3 separate regions of the Homo sapiens genome follow, and regions 2 and 3 are each linked to region 1. The links are contacts of gene promoters, found by promoter capture Hi-C in human tissues and cell types (Jung and others, 2019). All regions are on one chromosome and are shown on one strand. Each heading gives the region's core, a stretch centred on a gene start or on the middle of the fragment in contact. The rest is flanking DNA. Distances are from core to core; before and after follow the strand shown.

Region 1 (5,088 bases), core at 1,729-4,228:
TGAAGACATACTCAGAAAGCTCCCCGTGGCTGGGTGTGGGAGAAGCCTGGAGGAGGGTGACAGCAGCAGTTGGATTCCCATCCACCTTCCTGTGCTTACTACTAGCTGGTAAGTACAAGAAGCCAGCGAACCTCTTGCAGTTTCAGTTCCCTCATCTGTAAAATGGAGGTATCAGTGTCGTCAAGCCAAAGGCTGCCAGGAACCTGCCTGTAATTGAATGAGTTGGGATTATCACTCATTGCAGCGAGAGGGATGCAGATCATGGAGAACTGCAAGGCATCTCAGTAAGAGGTGTCGGGAAAAGTTACTAAAGGTTATGGGCTTGAGTTGGGTGATTTTTTTCATGGATTAGATGCTGTCAGGAATTGGGGGAGTGGATGGGGGGAAAGGGTGGTTCTCTGGGCATCTCAGTAGATGTTATCTGTGAGGAGGCCAGGGCAGAGGGAGGCTCAGCTGTAGCTGGTAGAGGAGCGGGGGTCATTGTTACTAACTTGGAGATGATATGTCTTAGATTTTGTGGGTGGCACAGTTACCCTGTTTTTGTTTGTGCTTAGACAAAATTATGACGTGGCCTTGGATCATGATGGTGCTCCTCTACAAAATTATTTATGTCCAACAGGAGACCCCATGGCCTCGATCTGAGTGCCAGGCCAGCTCCTGATGTCACGGTCCACTTTTCTTCTTGGAGGTCATACTAGTACCTATTTCATGGAAATAACCCATGTAGAGTGCTCAGTATATACCCTGTGAAGGGTTATGAATGCTGATGGTAGTGGAAGCTGATGTGGAGGGGAATGGTGGAGACACCTTGGAAAACCAAGCAAGAGTCTGAAGTTGTGGCAGGCCGGGTCTCACTAACGCAGGCCTCCATTACAGCTGTCCCAGCACGGACTGAGTAGCCAGGTTAAACATTAAAAGCTGATTGAGCCAATGCCCTTATACAAAGGTTGGAATGTAACAAAGAGCCCACCAAGAGTTTTGCCTAGGCTCTTCCTGGGCCTTGAAGCATGACAAGATAACGAAGGAACTCTTAACAGGACCCTTTTTAGGATTAAACAAGTTGTATTAGGGATCTGAAGAAACTCCCCAGGCCTCCACAAACAAGTTTATGGGGGTCTAAAGGAATTCCCCATATCATTATGATTTAGCAGGAGACAAGATAAGGGTAATCACCCCAGCACCTAGACCCATTTAGATTAAGTAAACTTACTGAGGCTCCAGAAGAGGGTCTTCAGGACTCAACCTTAGTCATAGATTAAAAGAAGTTAATCACTTATGTCTGTAGATGAATGCACACTTACATGTAGACATACAGCTTAGAAGGTATACGAGCTTTGGAAAACTTTGTAATTTTGAGTTGGTATGGTGATAATTTCCAGGCCTTCTCCTTGTAACCGGTTACAGAAATAAAACCTCTCTTACTCTCCAGCTCATTTGCATCTTGTTATTGGGCCAGGAGAAGTAGTAGCCCGACCCTCAGTTGGGTCCAGGAACAAAGGGAGTGTCTGAAGACAGCAGTGATGTGATCACCTGTTTTAGGAGGACCACTCGCCAGAGCCCAGGGGAATGGTGGGAGGGGTGGGGAGAGGTGAGGGGAGCTGGGACAGGGCAAGGAGGGATGTATGGAGGACGTGTCCCCTGGCAGTAGGAAGAGAGTCAAGGATGACTCCAGGGCTTCTGTAATTTGAAACAGTCACAAATAACCACAAGCTCTCAGGTGGAAGGACACTGAGAGCCCCATGAAGGTCATGAGGTGGTGGGCCACCTCAGGTCCGTGGATCCAGGACCATGGATCAACAAGAGAAGTGAGGTCTCCCTGGGACCACATAACGTGGTGAAGGCACCGGCCTTTGGTTTTCAAACTCTGCTCCTAAGTGGAGCTCCAGGGTCTGGGGAGGAATGCCGAGTTAGGAGGGAGGCGGGAACCGGAGACCCAGGCCCACTCGTCCGCCCCAGCGACGCTGGCACTTGCACATATGAGGCGGCTTGCATGGCTGTGCTTGAAGAAAGGGTTCTGCAGCTACAGCCTATCTGCAAAGCCCCACGCGAAGTTTGGGCAATGGGCTGTGTGAACCCAGAAAATGGGAGACAGGTCTCAGTTAATTTACAAAGTTTATTTTGCCAAGGGTGAGGACGCGCCCGTGACACAGCCTCAGGAAGTCCTGACATGTGCCCAAGGTGGTCGGGGCACAGCTTGGTTTTATACATTTAGGGAGACAGGATACATCCATCGATACATGTAAGAAGCACATCGGTTCGGTCTGGAAAGACGGGACAACTTGAAGCAAAGGCAGGAAGACTCCAAGCGGGGAGGGAGCGTCCAGGCCACAGATAGGTGAGACACCAACGGTTAAATTCTTTTGAGTTTCTCATTTGCCTTTTCAAAGGAGGCAAATCAGATATGTATCTATCTAAGTGAGCAGAGGAGTGACTTTGAATGGAATGGGAAGCAGGCCTGCCCTAAGCAGTTTCCTGCTGGAGTTTTCCTTAGTGATCTTGGGGGCCCAGGATATCTTCCTTTCACAGCTGATTTCACAAAGCCGGCTGGGTAGGAGGGCCCCAGGGCCGGGTGGCCGTCCGCGTGGCAGGGCGGGGGTCCCAGGGCGGCTGTGCTTGGTGCTGGGAGGCCGCCCGAGGGCAGCGCCGGCCCCGAGTCAGCAGCCGCAGGGCACCCTGGAGATGCGGAACGCCCCCAGCCGTGGGTCAGCAAAGGCGTCTCAGGTGACCCTTAGGGAGGGCTTCTGAGGCAGCCCGTGCGGGGTCCGTCCTGGCTGAGCACTGCGCGGACGGCGCGCCCGCGAGACTCGGACCCGGCCTAGGGCTCAGCGAGCTCTCAGCGGGGCGGGCGGACGCAGGCAGCCCAGGGGAGTGGGGCCCGCCCTGCGCCGCCATCACCCCTTTAAGTGCCAGGCCCGCGGCGCATGCGCAGTCAGGCCGTTGTGCGCAGGCGCAGAGGCGGCGGCGGCGGCGGCGGCGGCGGATGTTTACGGCGGCCGAGGTTGGAGCGGCGCTGCTCGGCCGCGGACACACGAGGGACGCGCCCGAGGAGCTGCAGGTGGCAGCCCAGGCGGTCCGAACCCGTCGGCCGGCCGAGCCTGGAGGTAGAGCCGCCGCCGCCGCCGCCGCCCCTCGGTCCGGCCTGCGGCGAGCGGGTGGTGTGTCCCCTCGGCCCCTTCCCTCCTCCTTCCCCACCCCCGGCACCCCTGCGCCCGGAGCTCTCCTCTGGGGGCGTCGCTCCTCCCCACCTCGGGCACCCTCACCTCCCCCCAGCGGCCTCCAGGGCGTCCCGCGTTTCTCTCTCCGAGCGCTCGCGGTTTCCCGTCGGTCTCTCCCGGTGCCCGTTGCTCACTCACACTCTTGGGTCTGGTTAGTCCAGACCTGCAGCTTGTCTTTGACTTCCCAAGTGGGAAACGTTTGCAGTTCCAAGGCAAGCCAAGAGCTAAGGTTTAGAACAAAGTCTGCCTTGGACCCTTTCAGAAGATGACAGGATTTTTTAAAAAAATAATTGCGCCCCCCCGCCCCGTGCCTTGGAGATAGTAAGAATTGGAGCAGAGCACTGGGACTTCAATTCACGCATGGAAAGAGATCTTTGTTAGTTGGAGGAAGGAGAACTTGCCTGAGCTTCGGGCCTTTGTTTTGTTTTTGTGAGAGGGACGTGTCTCCTAAATGAATGTTTGCTCCAGCGTTGCACCTCAAATAAGTCACCTAAATATCCACGCCCTCTTTATCCACCCCCTCTTTACTCGTGTGACTAGAATAGTTTTCATTTTTCTTCTCAAGGGAATGGCTAAACAGCTCCTATCTGGGCGTTTGATAGACTGTCATTCAAGAATGAGTGAAGTTGAGGTGCCTATAAGCAACTCAGAAATTGTTGTGGCCACGCTTGGGGGAAATAGAGCCCTACACTCAGGTGATGAGAGGAGACCTCAGAGGTGACCGATCCAGGGCCTTGCTCCCTGCGCCACCCCAGCTCGTACCTCCAGTGGAACTTGGCTGGGCTTATCAAGAGCTCCTTTCATTCATTGCAACTTCATTTGTTAGAAAGCTTCTCTGTGTATTTAGTAGGCATTGTCTCCAACATGTACCACTGGTCTGGCTTTTGTTAGGCCCATTAATAGTGTACATGTGACAGCCTTTCAAGTATAGGTGCTCCCCGGCTTACGGTGGGGTCGCATCCCAGTAAACACATCGTTAAACCTGAAGTCGAACCATCCGAAGTCGGAGACCATCTGTATTTGAAAAAAGTCCCTTTGCATTGCTTGTAAGAGTTCTGGTTTTCAAGGTGAGAAATCTGTTTGTGTGTTTGTTTGATCATTCTGCCCAAAGGAGATGTGGCTTTGGGTCCTTTTCCCCACTCATCTTCCACAATGAATTACTTTGTCCATATTACCCTAAAGAAGTGACATCCAAGTTGGAATGTGATCTTCCGTATGTCGCCTCCCAAAACCCCACTACCATAGCTTCATGCTTGTGTTGACACAGCCACAATCACAACTCAGGTGTCAGTTCTGAGACCTTCCCATGCCTGTCGCCACTCAGCAAGTGTTCTTCATGTGCCCTGGCAGTTCGCATTGTAAGGAGCAGCCAGGTTGTTATGGACTGTTGCTAGTTACCACAGAGTAGTGAATTATATTAAGGATTAATTACAGCAGACAATGTGCACAGTATCATCGAGTGCAGCGTTCTAAAAATGATTCTACACTTTTACTTTGAAAAATTGGATTTGACCAGATTGTAGAATCTGGGTGAAAATGATAGGATTTGGTTTGGCGAAGAGCTTTGTTGTCGGTGTTTTTGGTGACATCATGACTGATCATATCGATGGTTTTCAGTGCGAGGGAGTGTTAGATTACCAGACAAAGATGGTAATAAATATCAGACCCCACAGCTATTCACATGGATCCTACCAGTGGCAATAGGTATAGATAGGGTTACCCCATCGTCAAAAGGTTACCGGTGTGTTGTGTGGTAAAGAACGTTGCTGTCTTGAGTATTTTTAAAAGCTGCACTGGTGTGGTATTAAAAACACAGGCCTTTTGCCATACAGTCCTGGGTTTGAATGCAGCCCCCTCCTCACAAACTGGCTAT
Region 2 (5,088 bases), core at 1,014-3,513, 210 kb before region 1:
GGACAGGAGGGGAGTGGAGGGCTGGGGGGGAGTGTGGACCCATGCCTGCTACCCACGCTCTCTGGGATGTGTCACGGAAGGATGAAGGAGTGCTATGAGGTTCAAGCTAGGAGTCAGGCTCCCTGGGGGCGATTCGGAGGGAAGGGGCGTCCAGGGCTATTTGGGGAACTGCTTTTCCCTCCCTGCAAACACCACAGATGTCAGTGTGCAGAGGAAAGGCCCGAGGATTTATTGTGGCCTCTCCGTCCGGGGACCCAGCTCCAGGCTCCTCCTTTATAGAAAGCAAACATCTGTATTCCTCACATTGCAAAAGTCTTTGCCACAGTGACGCTTCTGATCACTGAAACTTCTTGGAAGAAAAGTTTAAGAGTTTAATTAAAAATTAAATATATTGTATTAGGTATATTTTTTAAAAGGGCAAAGTAAAAAATATTAATACAATCTGGTTGTAGAAAATACACTGCAAGAAAAGGAGCAGGTGCTTCAAAAATGTAACCCTGGCAACTCTGCCAACAGGTCCTGGGCTCGGGCTTCCTGGAAAAGCCCCGGGACACGTGGGAACTCCAGGCACCCTCGCAGGGGCCCCCCGAGGGCAGGTGGCCCAGAAGCCCAGGAAGGGTGGCCTGGGAGGTGGAACGGGCGCAAGGCCGAGCATCACTGGCTCCTAGGGGGCTGTGACATGGAACCAAACATACACGCGTATGAGAGAGCAGAGCGGCAGCGACGCGGTCGGATCGGTCGCGGGGGCTGCGGGAGGAAGCGCTGCAGGGACCCGGGCGGCGCCGGCGGCCTAGCCGGAGATGCACGCGCTGTAATAGACCGCGCTGCTGGCGTCCGACAGCGCGGAGATCAGGCTGCTCTCCTCTGGGCAGGACATGGCGCGCGGGCCCAGTTTGGCCAGTGCCACGTGGTACGGGAGCCCGGGGGCGTCGGGCCGAGTCCGGCTGCAGTTGAGGTACTGGTCGAACTCGGTGAGGTCCACGTCGGCCCACAGATCGGCGGCGGGCCCCAGCGGCTCGGCGCTCTCCAGCGGCGGGGCCTCGGGCGGCGGCGACAGCGGGCCGGGGTACGGGCCGGGCGTGCCCAGGGTGCCGTAGTACAGGCCAGCGAGCGGCGCCGCGGGGGGCGCGGTCCTGAGCGCCTCCGCCAGGGGAGCCCCGTAGCAACCGCCGGGGTCCCGCGACAACTCGGTGGGCGCGTAGGGCGCGCGGAAGGGCCGCAGCGCGCAGTCCTCGGGCGCCGCGGGCGGTGGGAAGAAGGCAGCCTCGCCGGGCTCCAGGCCGTCCAGAGGCGAGCGCTCGGGCGTGGGCAGCCCCAGGCCGTCGAACTCGGCGCCCAGCGGGGGCAGCTCGCGGAAGGCGCGAGCCGAGCCAGACGCCGCGGGGAAAGGCTCGGGCGGTGGCTGCGGGGGCGCTAATCCCGGGAGCAGGAGGCCGGGCTCCAGCCGCCGGGCCTTGCGCGCCTGCTTCTTGCGGCGCGGCCGGTACTTGTAGTTGGGGTGGTCGCGCAAGTGCTGCACGCGCAGCCGTTCGGCTTCCTCCACGAAGGGCCGCTTCTCCGCCGCGTTCAGCTCCTTCCACGCTTTGCCTGCGGGCCGTGGGCGCCAGTGAGTGGAACGCCGTCGGGCGGGTGGGCGCCGAGCCCTCCGTGCGCCCGGGACGCCCCGCGAGGGTTTGGCGCAGCCCCCGCACCCCGCGGCCCGGGACCCCTGCCCCCCCCGCCCCACCCCGGCCCGAGCCCCCCCCGCCCTCTCCCCCTTCTCTGCCGCCCTCCCGCCGCTCACCCAGCATCTTGCTGAGCACCGCGTTGTGCAGGTCCGGGTTCTGCTGAGCCAGCCGCTTGCGCTCGTCCTTTGCCCACACCATGAAGGCGTTCATGGGCCGCCGGATGCGCGACTCGTCTGCCGCCTGGCGTTCCCCGCGGCCGGCCGGGCTGAGGCCATAGCGCCCCGGCTCGGGGCTGCGCGGGGGACTGCGCTGCGGGCTGGGCGGCGAGGCGGGCGCGGCGGGCGCGGCGAGGGCGGCGGGGCCGGCGGCGAGGCCGCGCGTGTCAGCGGCGGCCCCGTGTCCCGGGGCCCATGCACAGTCGCGGCGGGCGGGCGGGTCGTCCTGTGCGCCGTAGCCGGGCGGCGATCTCTGCATTCCAGCTGGGCGCGGCCTGGGCGGAACGGAGCGCGGGAGCGCGGCGGGCGGGCGGCGGGCACTGGGGAGCCGGGCGCAAGGGCAGGCCAGGCCGGGAGGGCGGATGGCGGTGGGGACGGCGGTGGCCTCGGGCCGGGCGGGCGCCCAGATATAGCGGCTCAGGGCCAATCGGCGGCGGGGCGGGCGGGCGGGGGCGGGTCGGGGCCGCCTCCTCCCCGGGGGCTCCCTTTCTTCTCAGGCCGGGCGGGATTCCGCTGAGGCCTCCCCCGCGCACAGCCCCCCCACCTCCCCCGCGACCTCTCAGAAGGAGAGACCCCCCGGGTGGGAAAGAAAGGGCTGCTGATGAGGGCCGGTGCTGCCAGACTTTCGGAGGCGAGCTGCCACCCACCCACGGAGTCGGACCCCCGGGCAGTAACTGGGGGAGGGCGGCAGTGTCCCGCTGGTTGCCGTTCCCCGCCCCCCGCTGGGAGGCTCCATGGGGAGGAGAGGGCCCTTTTTCACACCAAGTTCTGGGGAGGCTGCCTTCCCAACAGCCGGTAAGTCCTTCCTGGAGTGCAGCGCCTTCAGAAAAGGCCCCGTCTTTGGGGAGGCGCTCTGAGTCCCCAGGGGCGCCCATGCTGGAAACTCTACACCCATGTGTAACCGTCAGCACCAGGGACTTTGAGTGCCTTTATGGGACAAGATGGTCTTCTGTCCTCACTCCCAAACCAACTCTGGCACAAGGCAAAGCTGACACAGGGAGGGAGAGAGCAGAGGCCCTGGACGGAGCCCACAAAGAGAAGGGGGAGCAGGGACGCAGAGGCTGTGGCGTCCTCCCTGCCCCCCAAGGGCCCTTGGGGAAGGGGCTGGGACCCTCAGTGGCTTGCTGGCTCCCCTGCCCAGCCCAGGCCACCGCTGCAGCAAGAGGCAGGGCCTACCTGGGTCCTTCCCACTGGCCCCTCCCTGGACCCTCTGACCTGGGCGGGGGCGGGTTCCGGAGGAGCGTCCAGCTTCCTGAATTTTCACTGTCCCCTTCCTACTCCATCAGGAGGGGATCTGGGCTCCAGAGCTGAGGGTCTCCCTCTGGAGGTCCTCCCCTCCCACTGCCACGCATGGTTCTACTGGAGAAGGGTTGGGTGTCCCCAGCAGCCCTCCAGGCAGGGTCAGAATCTCGCCACCTCGCGGCACATCTCCTCATAGCCTGGAGGCTCCCCAGCTCCCCCCGCCACACTATGCCGGGAGCCCCATGGGTAGAGGCCACAGGTCTTGTGACCCTGAGCCTGTGTGGCCAGAAGCTCTTGGTTCTCTGTCCCTGCCAGCCTCGCTAGGCCACATCCAGCCTGTGTTATGAATGGGGTGGGCCCCACGTGGGCCTTGCAGTGCCCCTTAGAGGCTGTTCCTGAACTGTCCCCAGGGGCACTCCTGCCCTGAGGCCAGCACCCCCACAGGGGCACTCCCACCGAGGGCTGTCGCGGTCGGTGTCCAGCCCTCCCCAAAGCCCCACATCACAGTCTGTCTCGACGCCCATCGTCCCAGCATACGGGGCTGGGTCTCCCAGTCTGGTCTCCAGATCTCCCGTCCCTCCAGTTTGCCCCACGGGCCTAGCACCTCGTTCACAGACACTGAGCCAGTGCTGGCTAATGGGGGGCCCGTGGGGCACCAGGAGGTGCGGCCCCTGGCTTTTCTGGGGAGGCAGGCAGGGTTGTGGCCACAGGGATGGAGGGGCTCACAGGCCTCTGCCGGATGCTGCTAGTCCTCCTTTAATCTCAGTATGGGTGGCTGGACCCTTGGCCGAGTCTCAGTGTGGGTGGGCCTCCTGGGCAGCTGGCAGGAGGGTGCAGGGGGGGTGGGGAGCCGTGCGAAGACCCCAAAGGGCTACCACTTGGCGGAAGCTCTCTCTACTCACAACCTTAGGGTTGCAGTCAGGGGTCACCAGGGCCTGGCTCAGCCTGGGCAGTGGCTGGTCACTGCGGCCTGGGAAAGAGGTCCTCGGGGTCCTCTGCAGTAGCCCTCACACGTGGGGAAGGATTTGCAGTTCCCTGGGGGCCCTGCTTGGTCCTCTGCCACCCCCGAGAGCCCAGAGTCACTGGAGCTGCTCTAAACATAGTGGCAGGCAGTGTCCGGCATGACCTCATCGCCTCCACGTCCCCCACAACACCCACCAGCAGCCGCCTTGCCTGGCGCCAGCCAGTGACCCACCCTCTTGGCTGGGCTGTGGACTCAGGTGTCCGGCTGTCATGTCCTGTGAGTCGGGGCTGGGCGGGGAGCCTCCTGAGGTGCTCCTCTCCCTCTGCGTGGCAGGGAGGAGGCTGGCAGCCCTGGCCCAGTGTCCAGATGGGACAAAGTGGGGGTAGGGACCACAGCCAGGGTGGCGTGATCTGGAGCCGCAGGGCTGGGGGGACTTGCCAGGGCTGTAGAGGGGATGGTGTGGGTGTGGCCAGCTGTGCTGAGGGAGGGGCATCCGATGTGTGTCTGTGCATCTGTGTGTGGCCTGTGTCTGTCTGTCTGCCTGGGTGTGGGGTGAGGGGGACTCTAGTGCTGGAGGCTGCCCAGGGCCTTGAGAGCCAGGCAAGCTGGACGTTCCCAGGAAGAGATGAGGACCCATAATAGGTCCAGGACCAGGGGTCCTGCTCCGTGAAGTTTGGAGGGTCCCCAAGGCTTCTCTGGCCACTGAGCTTGGGCCCCAGCATTCTCCAAAAGAGGGCAGGCAGTTCATGAGTCTAGGGGCATTCCTCTGCCTCTGGAACCCCACCTCAGTCTGTCCTGGACTAGGTGGGCTATGGCCCACCCTTGGGAAGGAGCCTATCTGTAGCCCCCAAGCCCCAGTCAGAAAGGCAGAGTTTGGGGGCAAGCTTTCTCTACAAGGGTGGGGCTGGCCTGGGCACTGAGTGGACACTGTCCTCCTGCCTGCCACCTGCCCCTCTCCCTCAGCTTGGACAGGAACCCCGGCCTCTGAGTGAGGTCCGCA
Region 3 (5,088 bases), core at 1,634-4,133, 150 kb before region 1:
GGGGAGCACAGGCCATGGAGAGGACCGTCGGCCACAGCAGGGGAGTATAGGGGAGCACAGGCCATGGTGAGGACTGTCGGCCACAGCAGGGGGGCACAGGGGAGCACAGGCCATGGTGAGGACTGTCGGCCACAGCAGGGGGGTACAGGGGAGCACAGGCCATGGAGAGGACCGTCGGACACAGCAGGGGGGCACAGGGGAGCACAGGCCATGGAGAGGACTGTCGGACACAGCAGGGCGGGTACAGGCCATGGCAAGGACCGTCGGCCACAGCAGGGGGAACACAGCAGCACAGGCCATGGCACATGGGCACGGCGGGGCTGGGCCTCCTGCTGGAACTCCACTTGGGCTTCAGGCCACGAGAGTGGATTTCTGGGTCTCATGCGGTGCAGGTGTCCGCCTTTGCAGCAACACAGCATCGCTGCTGCCTGAGGTGCCCGCACTTACCACCCCCCGGCCCCATCTTGGGGAGAGACTATGTAACGTGGCCCAGGTCAAGATCACAGTTCAGGTTCCCTCCCCTCCCGACCACTGTCATTAGGGATCCTGAGTCCCAGAGCCTTCCAAGGGGCTTGTCCATCTGTCTGTCTCTCGTGGGTAAGTGGGCCCGGGATGCTTGCTGTGTGGGGGCCTCTGCCAGGACCTGGATCCCTGCTGCTGTCCACCCAGGGGCTGTCCAGGAAGCAGAGACATGGGAGGTATATGCCCACGGCTGTCTGTAGGTCTGGTGGCCAGCGTGTGAGGGTCTGTGTCTCCTTGCGTGGAGAGGACAGCACTGGGATGTGAACAGGCCGGGCGTCCCCTGAAAGAGACAGCCGGAACTGGGTGGGGGTGGGCGTGATGATGGGGGTGATGGTGGGGGTGGTGGGGGGGGTGGGCGTGATGATGGGGGTGGGGGTGGGGGTGGGGGTGATGGTGGGCGTGATGGTGGGGGTGGGGGTGATGGGGGTGGGCGTGATGGTGGATGTGATGGGGGTGGGCATGATGATGGGCGTGATGATGGGGGTGGTGGTGGGGGTGATGGTGGGGGTGGTGGTGGGGGTGGGGGGGGGTGGGCCTGATGGGGGTGTGGGCATGATGATGATGGGCGTGATGATGATGGGGGGTGATGATGGGCATGATGATGGGGGTGATGGTGCCCAGGCCCTTCAGCACCGCAATATGCTGCGGAAGTTCTTCCGGAAGTTGTCATCTAGAAAGGCGTAGAGGAAGGGGTTCAGGCACGAGTTGGCGTAGCTGAGGCTGGTGATGACGTAGGACATACTGATGACCAGTGGGGTCTGGGGCAGGTCCGTGGTCAGGGCCACGACAGAGGCCAGGTGGAAGGGCGTCCAGCAGAGGAGGCACACGGCCAGCACGACGAGGACCAGGACGGTCACCTTCCGCCTGGCCTTGCCTAGAGCCTTGGCTCCAGAGCGGAGCCGCACGGCCCGCAGCCTGCGCAGGAGGTCTGTGTAGAGCACACAGATGGTGCACACGGGCAGCACGAAGCCCAGGACCAACGTGTAGACACGGCTGGCCTTGAACCAGACCTGCTCGGGCCACGGGAAGCTCAGCCCACAGCTTGGGACCTGCAGCTCGTTGCTGTAGACGCCAGCGAAAGAGAAGAAGGGCAGAACCAGGACCGTGACGCCCAGCCAGACACACAGGCTGGCGACCTTCGCCCCCCGGTAGGTGCGCCAGGGCATGTGGCGGGACCTCACGGTGGCCAGCACCACCAGGTATCGGTCCACGCTCATCACGGCTAGGAAGTAGATGCTGGAGAAGATGTTGTAGTGGTCGACGGCCAGCACCAGCTTGCAGAGCAGCTCCCCGAAGGGCCAGTACTGCAGCAGGTGCTCCGCGATGTTGACGGGCAGTACCAGCGTGAAGAGCCCGTCGGCGACGGCCAGGTTCAGGATGAACACGTTGGTCACCGTCTTCATCTTGGGCGCCCTTAGGATTACAAGGATGACGGCCGTGTTGCCAGTCAGCCCCACAGCACAGATCCCGGAGTACACGGCGGGCAGGAGCACATAGAGGAACGGCAGTGGCTCGGAGAAGGTGGCATTGTGGCCAGTGCCATTGTCCTGAGAGACGTTGGCACCCATCGTGGGGAGGGAGAAGGAGCCCCTGCTGTCAAGGGGCTCTGGGTGCCCAGCGGCCTGCATTGTAGCTGGGACCGTTGACGATTTGCGCCCTGGGCAGGTGGGAGGTGCCTTGGAGTTGGGTATCTGGTTGGGGGCCTCCTTGGGCTGGATTCTAGGAAAGAAAAACAACCAGAGACTTTGAGATCCGGCCGTCTGTTAGGGCACAGCCACTCCAGGTTCTCTGGCAGAGACTGCGGCCACTTTGCCAGGTCAAGGACATGGGGCCAGAGGGAGCCTGGTGGGGTGTGTGGGGGCCTCCTCCCGCCTCTTCCTGGTGAGACTTCAGCAGATCAGTTCCCTCCTCCCGCAGAGAGCAGCTGCTGGCCACCCTCCTGGGAAGAGATGTGGATCCGTCCCTGCCCCAGCAACCCGCAGATGCACGGGCTGCGTAGAATCAAGCGGTCCCTTTGGAAACACACCTCCCAAGCTCATCTCTGGCTCCCTTGAATCTGAAGGTCCTTCCCTCAGGGGTCTTGGAGTCTGCACCCTCCCTCACACCCTCCCGAGAGATGCTGCAGACCCTGCTGGTCCAGCTACTCTTCTCTCCACTGACCTGTCCAGTGCTTCGAGTCCAGAAGTTGGTAGCCTTGGTGTGTTCCTGGTTTTGGCCAGTACAGGCAGTCGCAGGGATGGAGGGCGAGGTGTGGTCCTCACTGACAGACCTCCAGCTGAGGTTTCAGGAGTTTCAAGACCTGCCCTGCTGGCTGCCTCAGCCCCGGCTGCGAGGTTCCCAGCCTGGTGTCAGTGCTGATGCTGGTGAGGGAGGGAGGCGGATCCCCCTTGCTGACGTGGAGCCCGGAAGGCAGGCCCCACCTTCCCCTGAGCTGCAGTAGCGCCTGCAGTCGGCTGTCCCAGGGTCTCCTCAGCATTCACTTACCCAGGCAGACTCCTCAGTGGGCGGCTGAGGCACGTGTGCGCCTGTGTGTCAGGAAGGGACTCCATGCAGGGGCCTCTGGGTGTGCCCAGGTCTTCGGGCAGAGGGCACTGAAGGCATCTGTGCCTCTGTCCGGGAGTCACTGTGGGCCTGGGCACCCTTATCTGTGAACATGGGTGTCTTGGTGGGTCTCCTGCCCCACCCTGTGTGTGTACATGGTGTGTTCCTGTGTGTGTGTGCCAGTTAGGACATGTACGTGTGTGGGCCTGTGTCTGCCTGTATGGGGGTCTCTGTGGGTGAGCTCTGCGTTGTATCTGAGTGGGTCTACATGTCCTTGGCTGAGTGTGGGCATCTGGGGGGTCTGTATGCCCTCATGTGGAAGCAGAACTTGTTGGCCATAGGCAACCCACCTTCTTTTTTTGTCTTTTGCTAAAAGAGGAACTCAGCCTAGGCAAGCTGTGAAAGGCTGCAGAGAAGACGTTCTCACGCTGACACGTAACTCTCCCGCCGTCCTGCAGAGGTGGTGAGCATCACACTCTGCTCTGGGTTGGTCTTTAAGTCCTTCCCTTCTCCCTGCTTTTCTTCCTTGCTGGACGCACCCTGGCTTATCCAACCCGTGTGTGTGCAGCTCGGCCGCATCTGGACCTGCTTTGCAGGCAACGCCACAGCTGACACGAGCAGTCGCCAGTCTCAGAGCCGCTCCTCAGCGGAGACGTGTTGGGTCAGAGGGTCTGTGTTTTCTTTCCTTTCTTCTTTTTTGAGACAGGGTCTTGCCCTGTCACCCAGGCTGGGGTGCAGTGGCACTATCATGGCTCACTGCAGCCCTGACCTCCCTGGGCTCAGGTGATCCTCCCACCTCAGCCTCTCAAGTAGCTGGGACTACAGGCATGTGCCACCATGCCTGGCTAATTTTTGTGTTTTTTTTTGTAGAGACGGGGTTTCACCATGTTGCCCAGGCTGGTCTCGATCTCCTGAGCTTCAGCCTCTACCTCAGCCTCCCAAAGTGCTCAGGTTATAGCCATGACCCACCGTGCCTGGTCACTGTGTGTTTTCAGTCTGGGGAGATGTGTCTGCCCATCGAGACTGTGCCCGCTGCCTGTGGGGTTGCAAGGATGTCACCGCACACTCATGGTCGGCCTTCTTTCCTGAGAGTTGCTCTGTCAAGTCTATTGGTTAGGACAGGAGCCTGGGCAGTCGCCCTGAGTACCCTGATGTCGCCAGCCTGAGGGTACACTGTGGGTGGGCCCCGAGCTACCCTTCTATGGGCTGTGCCATGTGGATGTTGAGTCCGGGGTCAGGGAACCCTGCTGAGATATCTCACACTCCTCTTCAGCCAGTTTGGGGATGGCGGTGGGGGGGATCTGTGGGTGTGTCTCGAGGGAGCGTGGGGCTTGTAGCCACAGTTTGTCACATAAGTGGAGCTTGACGCCCACAAGGTCAGGGGATGGTGATTAGCAGCCGTGAGGAGAGGGTGCATTGGGGCTGAATTTTGTGATTTGGGGTGTTCGTGGGGTCGGGAGGGGTCAGTTCACAGCTCCTGGAAACCAGAGGCGTGACACAGAGAGGCCAGGCCTGGCATGTGGTGGCCCAGGCATTGACCAGGGTGTGGGCTGGGCCAGGCGGTCACTGGTCTTGGCTGGGGAGCGGCCGACCATGGCCTCAGCACCGGGCACTGGGAGAATGTCCCAGGCCTGCTGTCACCGAGCTGCTGTCCTGGGGTGGGGCTGGCCACGCTGGCCTGATTCTGGGCCTCCCTGGGGGCCTGCTGTCACCGAGCTGCTGTCCTGGGGTGGGGCTGGCCACACTGCCTGACTCTGGGCCTCCCTGGGGGCATTGCTGGGGGCCTCTCCCTTCCATGCATTTTGGGAGGGGCCCAGGCTAGTGCCGGTGCCTTCCTCTGCCCCCCAGGGCTGGCTGGCAGCCTGCCCAGTGACCCCCGTGTGGCCTGAGCTCTGGGCACCCCTGCTGGTCTTTGCCCTGCAGGATACCGACTGCCACCCACACCTTCTTCAGAGCAGGGTGTTCCAGGAGGGTCTTCCCTTAAGCCTCAGTAGTGGGGAGCCCAGTGTCAGAGGCATCCCTCAG

The links. Contacts are between HindIII fragments. The study calls those that stand out against the background at their distance.
Region 2: the fragment with the promoter of SOX18 here is called in contact with the fragment with the promoter of PCMTD2 in region 1 in 2 of the 25 tissues and cell types used here (heart left ventricle and mesendoderm cells).
Region 3: the fragment with the promoter of NPBWR2 here is called in contact with the fragment with the promoter of PCMTD2 in region 1 in 3 of the 25 tissues and cell types used here (IMR-90 fibroblasts, dorsolateral prefrontal cortex and lymphoblastoid cells).

The regions. Positions count from the first base shown.
Region 1 is chr20:64,252,770-64,257,857 of GRCh38, forward strand. It overlaps PCMTD2 (protein-L-isoaspartate (D-aspartate) O-methyltransferase domain containing 2), which reads left to right and starts at 2,979. Exons shown (of 6, transcript NM_018257.3): 1 at 2,979-3,101. The HindIII fragment of the contact is 11,329 bases long and covers 1-5,088 here.
Region 2 is chr20:64,047,376-64,052,463 of GRCh38, forward strand. It overlaps SOX18 (SRY-box transcription factor 18), which reads right to left and starts at 2,264. Exons shown (of 2, transcript NM_018419.3): 1 at 1,784-2,264; 2 at 207-1,587. The coding sequence starts at 2,141. The coding sequence ends at 791. RefSeq lists a silencer at 1,954-2,003, an enhancer at 2,135-2,816 and promoters at 2,141-3,249, 2,144-3,041, 2,144-2,404. The HindIII fragment of the contact is 20,169 bases long and covers 1-5,088 here.
Region 3 is chr20:64,104,682-64,109,769 of GRCh38, forward strand. NPBWR2 (neuropeptides B and W receptor 2) reads right to left here and starts at 2,884. Exons shown (of 2, transcript NM_005286.4): 1 at 2,683-2,884; 2 at 1-2,241. The coding sequence starts at 2,150. The coding sequence ends at 1,149. RefSeq lists an enhancer at 2,432-2,932 and a silencer at 4,916-5,088. The HindIII fragment of the contact is 24,186 bases long and covers 1-5,088 here.